Linked DNA regions of Homo sapiens: regions 2, 3 and 4 are each linked to region 1. The links are contacts of gene promoters, found by promoter capture Hi-C in blood cells and fetal thymus (Javierre and others, 2016). All regions are on one chromosome and are shown on one strand. Each heading gives the region's core, a stretch centred on a gene start or on the middle of the fragment in contact. The rest is flanking DNA. Distances are from core to core; before and after follow the strand shown.

Region 1 (3,224 bases), core at 456-2,955:
ACCCGGGACGCTGGCGAAGCCACCATAACCGAGTGCAGAATTCTAGCCTCGGGCGCTGGGAAGCCTCCCCACACCTCAGTTGCAGATGAAAACTTTGGCTTTTGCATTTTAAGAGCTTATTTTCTTTTAGCTCTTTAAAGTGCAGCCACTTCTGAGCAACTCAAGTGCAAAAATAACAGAAATCTGAAATGTATTCAGAAGCATTTAAGAAATGGAGTGCAAGCCCAGTTTTCCAACCCCTCAAGTCATTTAAAAATGTAGAAATGAGCTGGGCTTTCAAGATAGCAAGGATATTCCCTTAAGACCCCAAAGCAAGGCTGAGGAATTTGTCAGCCAAAGACGACATCTCTAGAGAAGAGCATCTGAGGGTTCGTGAAGAGAGGGGCTTGCGCATCTCTCCCTCCCCTTCCTTCGCCCAGGGCAAGTGGGACACCTTACCTCCATCTTATGAACTGGATTCGTGTTCTCTCCTCTAGGACCTCTTGGCTCTGGTTTGCCAACAAATCAGACTTAGAGAGGTGGTGCTTCACCTGGGAAATCCAGAGGGTCCATGTGATTCCTGCCCAGTGTGGCCCCCAACTGGGCTGGCACAGAGCCCAGACGAGCACCTCACCCTTGCCCAGAATCATTTACGGTGCACCTCCCACCTCTCCCCTCTCCCTCACCGCTACTCCCAGGCAAGGTCTCAAACTCTCATTTACCACATCTCTGGTCACGTGGATGTCCTGGCCATGGGTGGGAGGGGAGTCAGTGGACATCTTCTCCCTTACACCCTGGGAAGGGTGGTTGATGGACAGCTTTTCCTTTATGCCCCGAGAAGCCTCTTCTTCTGTCTGAAAGGTGAGAAATTCCCTCTGAAAATGTCACTCTGCATCCAACCCTGGGTCTTCTTCTCCTCTTCCTTTCCTTTTATTCATTCTCCATCACAACTCACACACCACATATTCACACACATACACTCCTTACCTCACTGTTCCCACAATAAGCTACTTCCCTGTAAAGTCCTCAGAACTCCCTAAGTCCCTGGCCCTATCCCAAGGTGTTCCTGAGACACCCTTGAGCTGGGAAGGATGCAGCTGAAACCCTTAAGCCAGGATGCTTGAGAAGCAGGACGGCGTTAGTGGTGGTGCTAACACATTTCCTGCCAGGACACAAGCCACAGTGTCCTCCAGCACATGTGAAGAAATTAGACTCAAATCTAGGAAGGGTGTCTGGCAATGAACTTGAGTTCCAGTTCCATGAAGAAGGAAGTCCAGATCCCCACACCCACTGAGACCACTTCTCTAGCATTTTGGATATCCTGAGTCATAAAGAAATCTTACTCACTTTTTTCAACCAATGATGTAGTACAGACACAGCCTCACTTTCCACAACGTCAATGTCCTGGAACAAATTGGCAAGTTGGTGACCTCAGAAAACCTAGAAATTCAGCTCTTCCCACCCAGCCCCCGCAACTGTTACTCAAATTTATTTGTAAGATCTCTATGAAGTGCAGCAGGGTCCCACAGGGGGAGAAGATATATGAAAAATTATTCCATGTGACTACCACCAAGCTGCTTACCGAACTGGTTATTGGTAGGAAGGGAAGCCCTACACCTTTCCGAGCAAGAATATACACAATCCATGTCGTAATTATCATCTTTGAATGTATACCAGGCCCCCTTCTTGGCTCCCTCCTTCCATTGAAGCTGCCTGAGAACTCCTATGGGACAGGAAGGTCATTGAAGGGAGGTGTCCACCTGATTGGCTGACCCATGGTGATGTGACAATGGCCTCCCTTTGAAAATGATGTATGTGAGTATAAATGCCGTTGCCAAGAGCCCCTGCATTTCAGGCTCTGGGTGCACTCCTATGAGTTACCCTGCTTCAAGGAGCAGAACCATTGAATAAAAGATTGCTGTCTAACACCATTGGCTGACCCTTGAATTCTTTTCTTGGGAAAGCACTAATTTGGGAGCTCACCTCCAGGCAGGAGGATGGGGTCTGGAGCCAGGAAACCTAAGGCCGATTTACACTGACTTCCTAGAACTAAATCAAAAGGAAAACCCCAACTTTCCGTGCCCAAGTAACAAAAAGACCAGAGGCTACGCCCTTTGCAACCCTCTCCTTTTCTGCATGGCAGATGAAAAACTGAAAGTATCTCTGATTGCTCCCCTCCCACAATCAGGCTGGTTGTGGGCCAGGTCTTCATTTGCATAGAGATATAACTTTATAACTTCACTTCAGCCTCTGATTGGTCACTTTCCGCAACCAATCAGACTGATCATGAGCCACTACTTCATTTACATAGGGTATATACCAAGTAACCAATGGGAAACCCCTAGAGGGTATTTAAACCCCAGAAAATTCTGTAACCAGTCTGCTCCCATCCTGTGGAGTGTACTTTTATTTTCGTTAAATCTCTGCCTTTGTTACTTCATTCTTTCCTTCGTTTGTGTGTTTTGTCCATTTCTTTGTTTAAGACGCCAAGAACCTGAACACCCTCCACCAGTAACAACCTGTCCCGCAACAACTTGTCATGTGCTCTTGACCTAATCATTAGTCCCTCTGGTCTGAGTTTCTTTGTCTTATACTGAAAGGGATAGAGTTGTGTCCCTAGCTTTCTTCTAACTCTAATATTCCAAAAATTTTCCCACGTTTATTCTTCTCAGGATTATAGAAAACCTTTTATCACTTTCTCCAATTCCCCTGATACAGCCACTACACGTCTTCCCTCTCAACAATTCGCCTCAATTTTATATCATCCCTGACATAGTCAGAATCGGCTAGGCTCTGCTGAGGACTGAGGCAACAAACCAACCTCCAAATCAAAATGTTTATTTCTCACTCTCAAAAGCTCTCGTGCAAGTTGGGTAATTTCAGAGCAATTGTGTGCCATGTGGAGACTCACAGGTCCACATTCAGAGGACACGACCTCCATGACTGCCAAAGCAGGGAAGAGAGCACAGAGAGGAATCAGGTCAGTGTTCCACCTTTCAGCTCAGAGGCTCCTACTTAGAGCTTTTGATCTAGAACTAGTCCTATGGCCCCTACCTAATTCCAAGGAAGACTGGAAATTGTAAAATAGCAGATGAAATTACCTGTCAACATCTCTGTTTCTACAGCTATCCCCTAAAATTTATGTTTTCATCCTTATTGATGTAATTTTATTTTTGAATATTTAAAATATTAATGTGATTCAGAAATCAAAACATGAACAGATACATTCAAGGACGTTCCATCTC
Region 2 (2,910 bases), core at 389-2,888, 780 kb before region 1:
AGGAGATGAAGTCACTGTCATTTGCTCGGAGATCTGCAGTGAGTAAAGGGTGTGGCTTGGATTTGAATAGGGTCTTCCAAATCCAGACTCCAGGCTCCTCCCACTGCCAATCACTCTTCAATATGAAAGCAGCCACTGGCACTACTCAGCGTGCTAGAACAGAGAATATTCGCTCTGTGGGACTCCTCTGGGGGTTGAAATGAGGAACTTCTGAATCAGGGAGCTCATGCTCAACCCTGGCTGAATCCTTGAGAGGACTCAGGGCAAGCAGAACATCAACTCCTCCTTCAAGGGGAACAAACCATAGGCTGAAGGGAACTTTAGAGCTGCACTAGCCTGGCTTTCTTATTTTACCAAGGCATAAGCACATCCAATGGGAGAAGATGTCTTCACTCAGTGGCATAAAACACTTCCTGATGCCCAAAGTCCACCTGGGCAAAGTGGCCAGGTGGATGAAGTTAGTGTCTTGAAGCTTCTTGTTGCCTCTTTCACTGGCCCTTCCTATGCCATCGCCTCTCCCCCCAGGATCAGGGATGTCATCCCTCAACCCTGACATGGCTCATGCCCAGGTCTGCCTACTCCCACAGTAAAATGCTGTCCAACCTCCCTTTCAAAATTACCTCCGCTGGGGAAAATGCTTATCATATATTTGTGCAAAGTTTTAGCAAGGCAGCCCCATGGTATCTAGGGAGGTCTGAAGGATGGTTATCTTTGGGGGCGCAGTTATGGATCATTGCTATTTTCTTCTCTATACTTGAAGTATTTTCATGTTTTATTTTAAATTTTAACAATAATAATGCATTTATTTATATGCTTCTTTTTAGGCCTCTTCTCAGCACACTGTTCCAACCAAAATTGATCTAATAAACGTATTTATTTTAAAGCAGCAAAGATTGATACTGACAGATGGTATTTTTATTCCAGGCTCAGTATCACAGCCTAGCTTATTTCCTTAAGCCAAAACTCTGCCCTTCTGAAGTAGAATCCCAGGCATTCTGGTTTATTGGGAATAGAGCTTAGAATTGGGGCACAGTGGGTGTGGCCATGGGGAGATGAAGAAGCCCTTAAACTCTGCTTTTTTTCCTTAATAGATCAGAAGAACATCCTCATTCACTAGAATTTCATTTACATATGGGAGATTTCTGCCAGCAGAGGTCTATGCCCAAATGGTAAAGGGGAAGGCCTGCTCTCAGCCTGTCTTGTGAGCAGTGCGGACGCTGCCCTTCTTCCAGTACATTCTTCATCAAAATTCATGTGCTCTGTTCTCTCATCGCTCCCCTGTTTAGGTTCTGGTATGCACAAAACACATGCTCGAGAATTAGCTGGCACAAACAGTTGATATGTTGCTTCATGTAATGTGAATTTACATGTTCACAGGAGGGCCTGTCAGGGTAACTGGGTTCAAAGGAGTTATACTAATGAGGAAAACTCTAGGTCCTTGACACATAAATGCTGGAGATATTTTTCAGCAGACGGATATTTTGGCATTCCCTGAATATGTGTATGCATAAGTTAGCACATCTGCTTGACATCTTATTTGGTTGGGTTAGCCCCAGTTCTTCACAGATTCATTTTTTCCATACTAGTGTCAGACAAAATGGTTAAGGGTCAAGGTGCCCTAGGAGAAACCTACACATACCAAAGAGGTAGGTGGCGTCGGTCGAAAATCCTAAAGCAAGTGACTAGCTTAAACTTAGTTCACAGTGAGAGATGCAAAGAGGCAAACAGAATCAGGAGAGAGTTACTTACATTATCAGAGAACATCATAATTTGGAGCTAGATGGATCAGATCTAACATCTTAAATTGTAGAAGAAACTCAACCTCAGATTTACTGAGACATTAGTGAAGAAGCAACGGTGTAGTAAAAAGAACGCTTGAATTTTACTTGCTATGTGGAATAAGTGGATTAACCTTGAGTAAGTTATTTAAACTTGCAGAGCCTCAGTCTTCCCATCTCCAAAATGGGGATAATAATATAGACCTAAACTGAACTATTTATAAGTGAAAATGAAACCATGAAACCATGCAAGAAAATTCTTAACATTATGCCTGATACATGGTAGGCACTTATTTATATTTATTTATTTAAGTGACAGAATGCAAACTAGAAACAAAATTACTCATGTTTTAGTGCTGTTTTCGAAGGTTCATCTCAGAATTGCTTGGAAGAACTTTTCCAATCCAAGTGCCAAGCTCTCCTATTCACAGAAGAGTTGCAGTTACACACAAGACCATAGCTGGGGTGCAGGGGCGAGTGGCAATTTGTGTGTGTTCGAACCTGAATGAAGACACCCCTGAATGATGTGTAAGACACTATCAAACGTGTGTGTGCGACTACACAAATGTGAATGCAAATGGGGCTTGAAGCTACATGTGTGCCCTAAAACATGTATAGGAGTGTGTGAGAGCATGTGTGTGTGCACAAGTTTCCAAAGTGGACAAATGGCATTGTCTCAACAGCACTCCCGTTTCCTGGGCGTGTTTCTGCAAGCCTGGGTGGTATCACAAACACAAAGGCAGAGGTGACAAAGACCATTAACTCTTAGAAACGCCATATAATAATTATCATGATAGAATTGCTTTTTCATTGCCGAGCCTAATTTGAGGCCAGCTCAGAGGAGGAGGGGGACACATGAACGATTCTGGCACCATCCAAGCTGATGCTGTGGCTCTAGGTGGGAGAAGAAAAAACTCTAGGATCTCCTGATGAGCAAAAGCCAATCCCCAGCTCCCTGCTAAATTCCACTTCTAACAAGTAGTGGGGGCTGTCTAGTTGGTGTCCTTAGTACATATTAACAATAAATAAAGCTTCAATAAATATGCAAAGCAAAAACTAATTTAAATTGGCATTTGTGTCGGGTGGGGCAAGAGAGTCCGTTCCACCATAAAGTGATTTAGGATATATTACC
Region 3 (2,821 bases), core at 150-2,649, 810 kb before region 1:
GCGGCACAGACAACACCGCAAGAAGCCATCTGCAAGCCAAAAAGAGAGGCCTCGGAGAAACCAAACCTGCTAGCATCTTCATCTTGGATTTCTAGTTCCCAAAACTATGAGAAAGTGAATATCTAATGTTTAAGCCACTCATCCTGTATTACTTTGTTAAGGCAGCCCTAGCAAACTAATACATCAACATGAAGACCAGGTTTTCTTAAAGTAGTTGAGATTTAGATAAACTAAAACTTTAAAGTCTACTTAAAATGTCAAAGTGAAATAAAAAGAAAAGTTGGTGTCCAGAAGTGGCTACTGGACAACAAATGATGGTTGCTTTAAAGGGTTGCTGCTTAAGTGCAATGGTATCGAGTTAAGAACTTCCCTAATGCCAATTCTTTCCCAGGATGGTGCGAATGTGTGTTTGTACATTTGTAAAAATAAATATGGAATAAATTCTTATTATGTGTCAGGCACTGCTCAGCTGCTAAGATTGCAAAGATCAATAAAAGATTCTCCACGGTCTAGTGAGAGAAATGTTAAATTTTATTGTTAGCATTTGTTTACATGCCCACATGCTATAATTAGATGATCTCATATTTCTTTTACATTGCTATTTCCTCCTTAACCCACATTCAATCATCAAACACTGCAATAGGTCTATTAAAGCATATCAAACACCATGCCAAGCACACTAATGTGCTTCAGGGTTCTGTACTTGGCCCTGTTGTATTATACAATGACCTGGTAAAGAATTTGGAATGCAACCTAATGTATTCTATAGAGCATATGAAGCTGAGAAAAATAGTTAATGTTCAAGAAGACAGAATCAGGATTCAAAAATATTTTGATCTCTGAGAAAAATAATCCAAGACTACAAAGTTGACATTGATTCAGGACTACATTCTGCATTCAGAAAAGAACTGGCAGCTTAAGTTTATGGTGAGGTGGGGAATGGGAGGGCAGCCTGGTTTATTGGCATGAGGACAGACCCAGATCTTCAGTTGTCCCACATCTATTCCTCCTTCTCTTTCATAATCCATTTGCTGCACTTCACTCCCTCCTGTTTCTTTGCTTGTTCCTCTGTGATGCTCTGCAGGAGCTCCAAGACCATGACCTTGGTCCTCCCTCCCCACAGTGTTCTGTTTCTCCCGGCCACCCTGGCTCAGATGACAAAGGGCTCTGCCTGACCACACTGTATGGTCCCAATCGAAAACATACAAACCAGGCTATCCAGTCCCCTAGAAGAGGGCATTGAGGATAGTGAAAGGCTGAAAATCAAAAGCCATGGCTGAATCAATGGAAAATGAACACTATGAAAAGACAAGACTTATTTGGGTCAATAGAGCTAACTTCAAAGTTAGTCGGATCACCACTGTGAGGATGAGGACTTATATCATTCTGGGAAGTAATCTCAATACGTAAGAGTTATAAGAAACCAAAGATTAGATTCAATTTAAGAAAAAAAGTACTCAAAACTTTCTTTATCTTGCATGGTACTGAGCTCTCTGTTACTGGAAGCGTTCAAGTTGAGGCTGCAGGACCATCTGCAGAGTCTTTCAAAGTGGATTATTGCATTGGGTAGGAGGTGGGTCAGAATGACCTCTAATGTTCTAAATTTAAGATTGTCTTCTTGTAACCTAGCTGCAGTATATTTTACTCGGAGCTAGACTGGAGTGTAAAGTGCAAGCTCCTATATATGAGATCATTTTGCCACCTTTTTAGAGAGCGAGTGAAATTTATACTTAGCTCAAATGTCAGTTTTAGGTATCCACAGCTGCTGGGTAGGAAATTCAGATCCTACTGAAGAAAATGAAGGGAACCCAGCTGTCTTTGACTCATCACCCTCTTGCGTTGGCAAGGTCACTGTTACCTTGCAATTAGCACTTACCTTCAAAGAAGAGCAAGCTCATCATCTGTGCCATGCTGGATAAAACTCTCCATAGGCAGAAAAAGGGCCAAGACTTTAAATGGTTAGAATTTGTGTGAATTAAGATAACCTTTGATCTTAATGGGTGACCCTAACTGAGCGTCTCTCACACTCTTGCCCCTTCTGGCTGTTTGGAGCCAAGTCCTTGAGATTAGGGTCCCCTTGGACTCAGTGTGCTGGTCTCCTAAGCATCAAATGAATGCATGCTACTAGGAGGAGGATGTGCAATCACTCTACTTGTTAAACTGCAAGTTTTAGCAGAAGGATTTTAGAGACCTTTCCACTCTTGGCCCATATCTCTACAAGTAGGGTGGTGGCCACCTCTCTTTCTGCCTGCAAGGCTGGATGCCTGGGAACCGAGTGCATGGGGAGAGCTCTGGGTGCAGACTTAGGAGCCCTGGGCGCTGGCCCTGTCTGTCCCTTCCCACACCCAGCCATGCCATGTGGGCCATGCCTTTGGTCCCAATCAGCTCCTGTCTTAGTGTCTCTCTGGGGCTGCTTATAGCTCGGGTGGGACACTCATCTCCTAGCTTTTCCTCACCCTTCCTTTCACAGTCCTGTAGAACATCTTTAGGCTTTGGTTTCTTTATCTATAAAATGTGGGAAAAGTAATAAATTCCCTGCCTCAAGGTTGTTGGTTAGCCAACATGGGCTATGACTATCAGGAGACCATGGTAATTAATATTGATTGACAATTATAAAAAGATTCATTATTTTAATTTTTTTCCTAAATAATGGCAACTAAAATTGAGTTATTATATAATGCCAGGCTCTAGCCCAGAGATATTAGAGAATGCATAACTTAACTCTTTTATAGGGATCATTATTATCCCCCATTACAGATGATAAAACTGCTGCACAGAGAGGTTAAGTACATATCCCAAGGTCACACAGCTAGCAAGTGGC
Region 4 (3,004 bases), core at 485-2,984, 740 kb before region 1:
ATGTAAACTATGGACTTTGAATAACAAAGATGTAGTTAAATCAATTTTATGAAATCTACCACTGTAGTGTGAGATGTTGACAATGAGGGAGACTGCAGCAGATTTGCAGCATGAACAGGGGCAGATGGTATATGGGAAATCTCTGTTGCTAACATCCTAAAATTTCTGGAAAAAAGATCTAAACAACTCCATCAGGGCTAAGAGAATTGTTCTCAGGATGAGACAAGCTCTTAAACATCTACTATTCTGGGAAATGCATTCTCAAAAACTAGGCCAAATTGGCCAGGGGCGGTGGCTCATGCCTGTAATCGCAGAACTTTGGGAGGCCGAGGTGGGTGGATCACGAGGTCAGGAGATCAAGACCATCCTAGCTAACATGGTGAAACCCTTCTCTACTAAAAAATACAAAAAAAATTCACCAGGCGTGGTGGCAGGTGCCTGTAGTCCCAGCTACTCAGGAGGCTGAGGCAGGAGAATGGAGTGAACCCGGGAGGTGGAGCTTGCAGTGAGCTGAGATCGCCCCACTGCACTCCAGCCTGGGTGATAGAGCAAGACTCCATCTCAAAAACACAAAAACAAAACAAAAACAAACAACAACAACAACAAAAAAAACTATGCCAAATTTGATTTTGACTATTCAAAATTGTATGTCTGTGTTGATGTGAAATCTGAGATCTCTCTAAATGAGATAGAATTATGACTATGGGCTATAAAGCAAGGGAGTGGAGCCCTAGGAACTGTATCAGGTTCTCAGCAGAAAGCCAGCATCTCCACTCTGGGGAAGAGAATGACCAGTGGCTCCTGGGGAGAGTATCCCTCTGAAGCTACCTTGACTGTTGTCGTCAGCTTCTCATACTTGAATCCAAAAAAGGGACACAATGAAAATCAATTTTACATCAAAAATTAATACCAAAACCACAACATTACTTTTTTTCTAATAGTGATCTGGGGATTCCTACTTTGAGACAGACATTTTTAACTTACGCATTTGCTTAGGCTTGTATTAAATCATTGTAAACCATAGTTTTAGTACTTATTCTATTTGATCAACCTTTACACGTCTACTAGTTTCCACACAGAATACTTGGGAAACTTATAGAGTCTTCTTTTTATAGGAAGAAAAACTGAGTCACCAAAATCCATGTTGTATTTTGAGATTAAATCAAAAATAAAATCTAAAATATGTCCCCATCTAAAAAAGTGCCCCCTCTATACCAGGAAACCTAAAGATCAATAGCCTGAACAATGCTTTGCATTCAACTTCCTGAGTTGCAGCAGAGTTAGTGAGGCTGGGGATCAAACAACGAGGGCCAGGCATGGAGGTGTGGATTAGAATAAAACAAAATGTGACAGGAAAAAATTACAAGGTGAAAAGCCTTTTGTTCATACAATGGAACATAATTTTGCAGTAGACATTTTTAAGCTTCTATTGTATCACACAGTGTTTCTTTGCAAGATTTCATGTGTTGTTGTGTTAAAAATGAATTTCATTTTGTCCCAATCAATGCATCTCCCCACTCACTATTACCTACAGGCCTTCCTAGCAGCCAGAGTTCTGGCCACCCTCCAGTACCAGGCTGGCATTAAAGTAAGTAAAGTTGCTGGTGTCTGTCCAAATGTTCAATCGAGGTAGTTGGGAAATGTCACCTACACCCAGATAATTTTTAAATTCCTTTCTCTCTTTTTCTTTCTCCCCATGCTCCGAAATTACCTCCAGCTTATTTGTCTGGCTAGAGGTTAATGGAACACTAATGATGTTAATGAGCCTTTCACAGTGCAAGTTTTTTCAGGAAAGAGATATAATAGCTGTTTTCCTTCCCTTTTAATCTTTTTCATCATTCAAGAGTTACAGGCTGAGACAATTAGCAACTTGTACAGCTCTGTCTCCCTGCTCAGTCACAGCCCAGTGGGGCAAAAAGCAGGAGCCCATTAGACAGCTCCACATGTCCACAGGTGAGAGCGCATGGATGGATGCAACACAGTGCTTCCTGCCAGAAGGCATAATGCTATTCAGGGAGAAAGGAGGGAAATTAACAATCTGTTGATGAAGCTTTTCCATGGCAGGCAGGCAGCAGGAGCTGTCCAGAGTACGGAAGAGTCATCATAAATTCCTCCCCATCCCTTCATTAGACCGAAAGGCATGAGTGAGAGCCACAAACCTCAAGGAGTTCAGAGTCTAGCTCACCCAAGCATCCAAATGTTTAGTTACTGAGAGTAAACTTACCCTAAATTCATAGGGACCTGGAAAAAAAGAAGAACATTTTTATAAAACAAGTTATTTAGCGATACATCCCAATTTTTTGGGCATTTCTCCATTTTGTGGTGTTTTGGCATTCTGCCTGTCTATGCTTTGAAAGTATACATCCTGGATGCATATGGCAATTAAAACATGAACTCAGAGTGCTGCTAAGATGGAAAAACATTGAAAGTAAAACATGTCCAAGATTTGAACTAATCTTGATTCTGACTCAGCTGGTGTTAGGTTTTATTTCTGGTGAAAAGGGCCTATAAATGCCTTCAGCAAATGCTTCAAGAAGAAATTCAGAGCACTCAACAGAGAGGGCTGAAGAATGTGACATTTCACTTTCCTTCAGATTGTTGATTTATTTTGTATCTAAAAGTGGATTTTAATTAAATGGATCATGGTTCACAACCAAGTTAGAGTGAAAAATATTAAGGCCCAATTCAAGATCAAAAACTGTAGGAATAATTTTCCTATAAAGGTCACTCTCAGTCAGAATTCAACCACTAATGCCAGCTAACTTGAGATGTAATATAAAGCAAAATATTAATAGGCCAAAATAATTTTGTACAAATTATGTGTTATAGATGTATAATGAATTGTTAGGCACATTAAGAATTTGATATGTATCCTTAAACTTTATGGTTTAGAGAATTGCCTGGAAAAATAATCAAAGGTTTGTTCACCTACTATGCGTGTTCAATAAACTTTACGCTTGCTGAGATGGTGGCTAAAAATAAAATATAAGGCCTAGAGCTAAAA

The links. The method cuts DNA at HindIII sites, captures the fragments that hold promoters and counts their contacts. A CHiCAGO score of 5 or more calls a contact.
Region 2: a fragment that was not itself captured here is called in contact with the fragment with the promoter of SPATA19 in region 1 in 2 of 17 cell types (M2 macrophages and megakaryocytes); the score reaches 6.9 in M2 macrophages.
Region 3: a contact is called between a fragment that was not itself captured here and the fragment with the promoter of SPATA19 in region 1, in 1 of 17 cell types (M2 macrophages). The highest score is 5.3, in M2 macrophages.
Region 4: a contact is called between a fragment that was not itself captured here and the fragment with the promoter of SPATA19 in region 1, in 3 of 17 cell types (M2 macrophages, endothelial precursors and monocytes). The highest score is 9.3, in M2 macrophages.

Annotation. Positions count from the first base shown.
Region 1 is chr11:133,843,808-133,847,031 of GRCh38, forward strand. SPATA19 (spermatogenesis associated 19) reads right to left here and starts at 1,706. Exons shown (of 7, transcript NM_174927.3): 1 at 1,562-1,706; 2 at 1,327-1,383; 3 at 702-833; 4 at 439-530. The coding sequence starts at 1,639. The HindIII fragment of the contact is 7,074 bases long and covers 1-3,224 here.
Region 2 is chr11:133,067,237-133,070,146 of GRCh38, forward strand. The region is part of intron 1 of OPCML (opioid binding protein/cell adhesion molecule like); the gene reads right to left. Among named protein-coding and RNA genes, the nearest start is that of OPCML-IT1, 300 kb to the right of the region's middle. The HindIII fragment of the contact is 2,337 bases long and covers 471-2,807 here.
Region 3 is chr11:133,035,872-133,038,692 of GRCh38, forward strand. The region is part of intron 1 of OPCML (opioid binding protein/cell adhesion molecule like); the gene reads right to left. Among named protein-coding and RNA genes, the nearest start is that of OPCML-IT1, 330 kb to the right of the region's middle. The HindIII fragment of the contact is 7,417 bases long and covers 1-2,821 here.
Region 4 is chr11:133,102,187-133,105,190 of GRCh38, forward strand. All of the region lies in intron 1 of OPCML (opioid binding protein/cell adhesion molecule like), which reads right to left. Among named protein-coding and RNA genes, the nearest start is that of OPCML-IT1, 260 kb to the right of the region's middle. The HindIII fragment of the contact is 627 bases long and covers 1,422-2,048 here.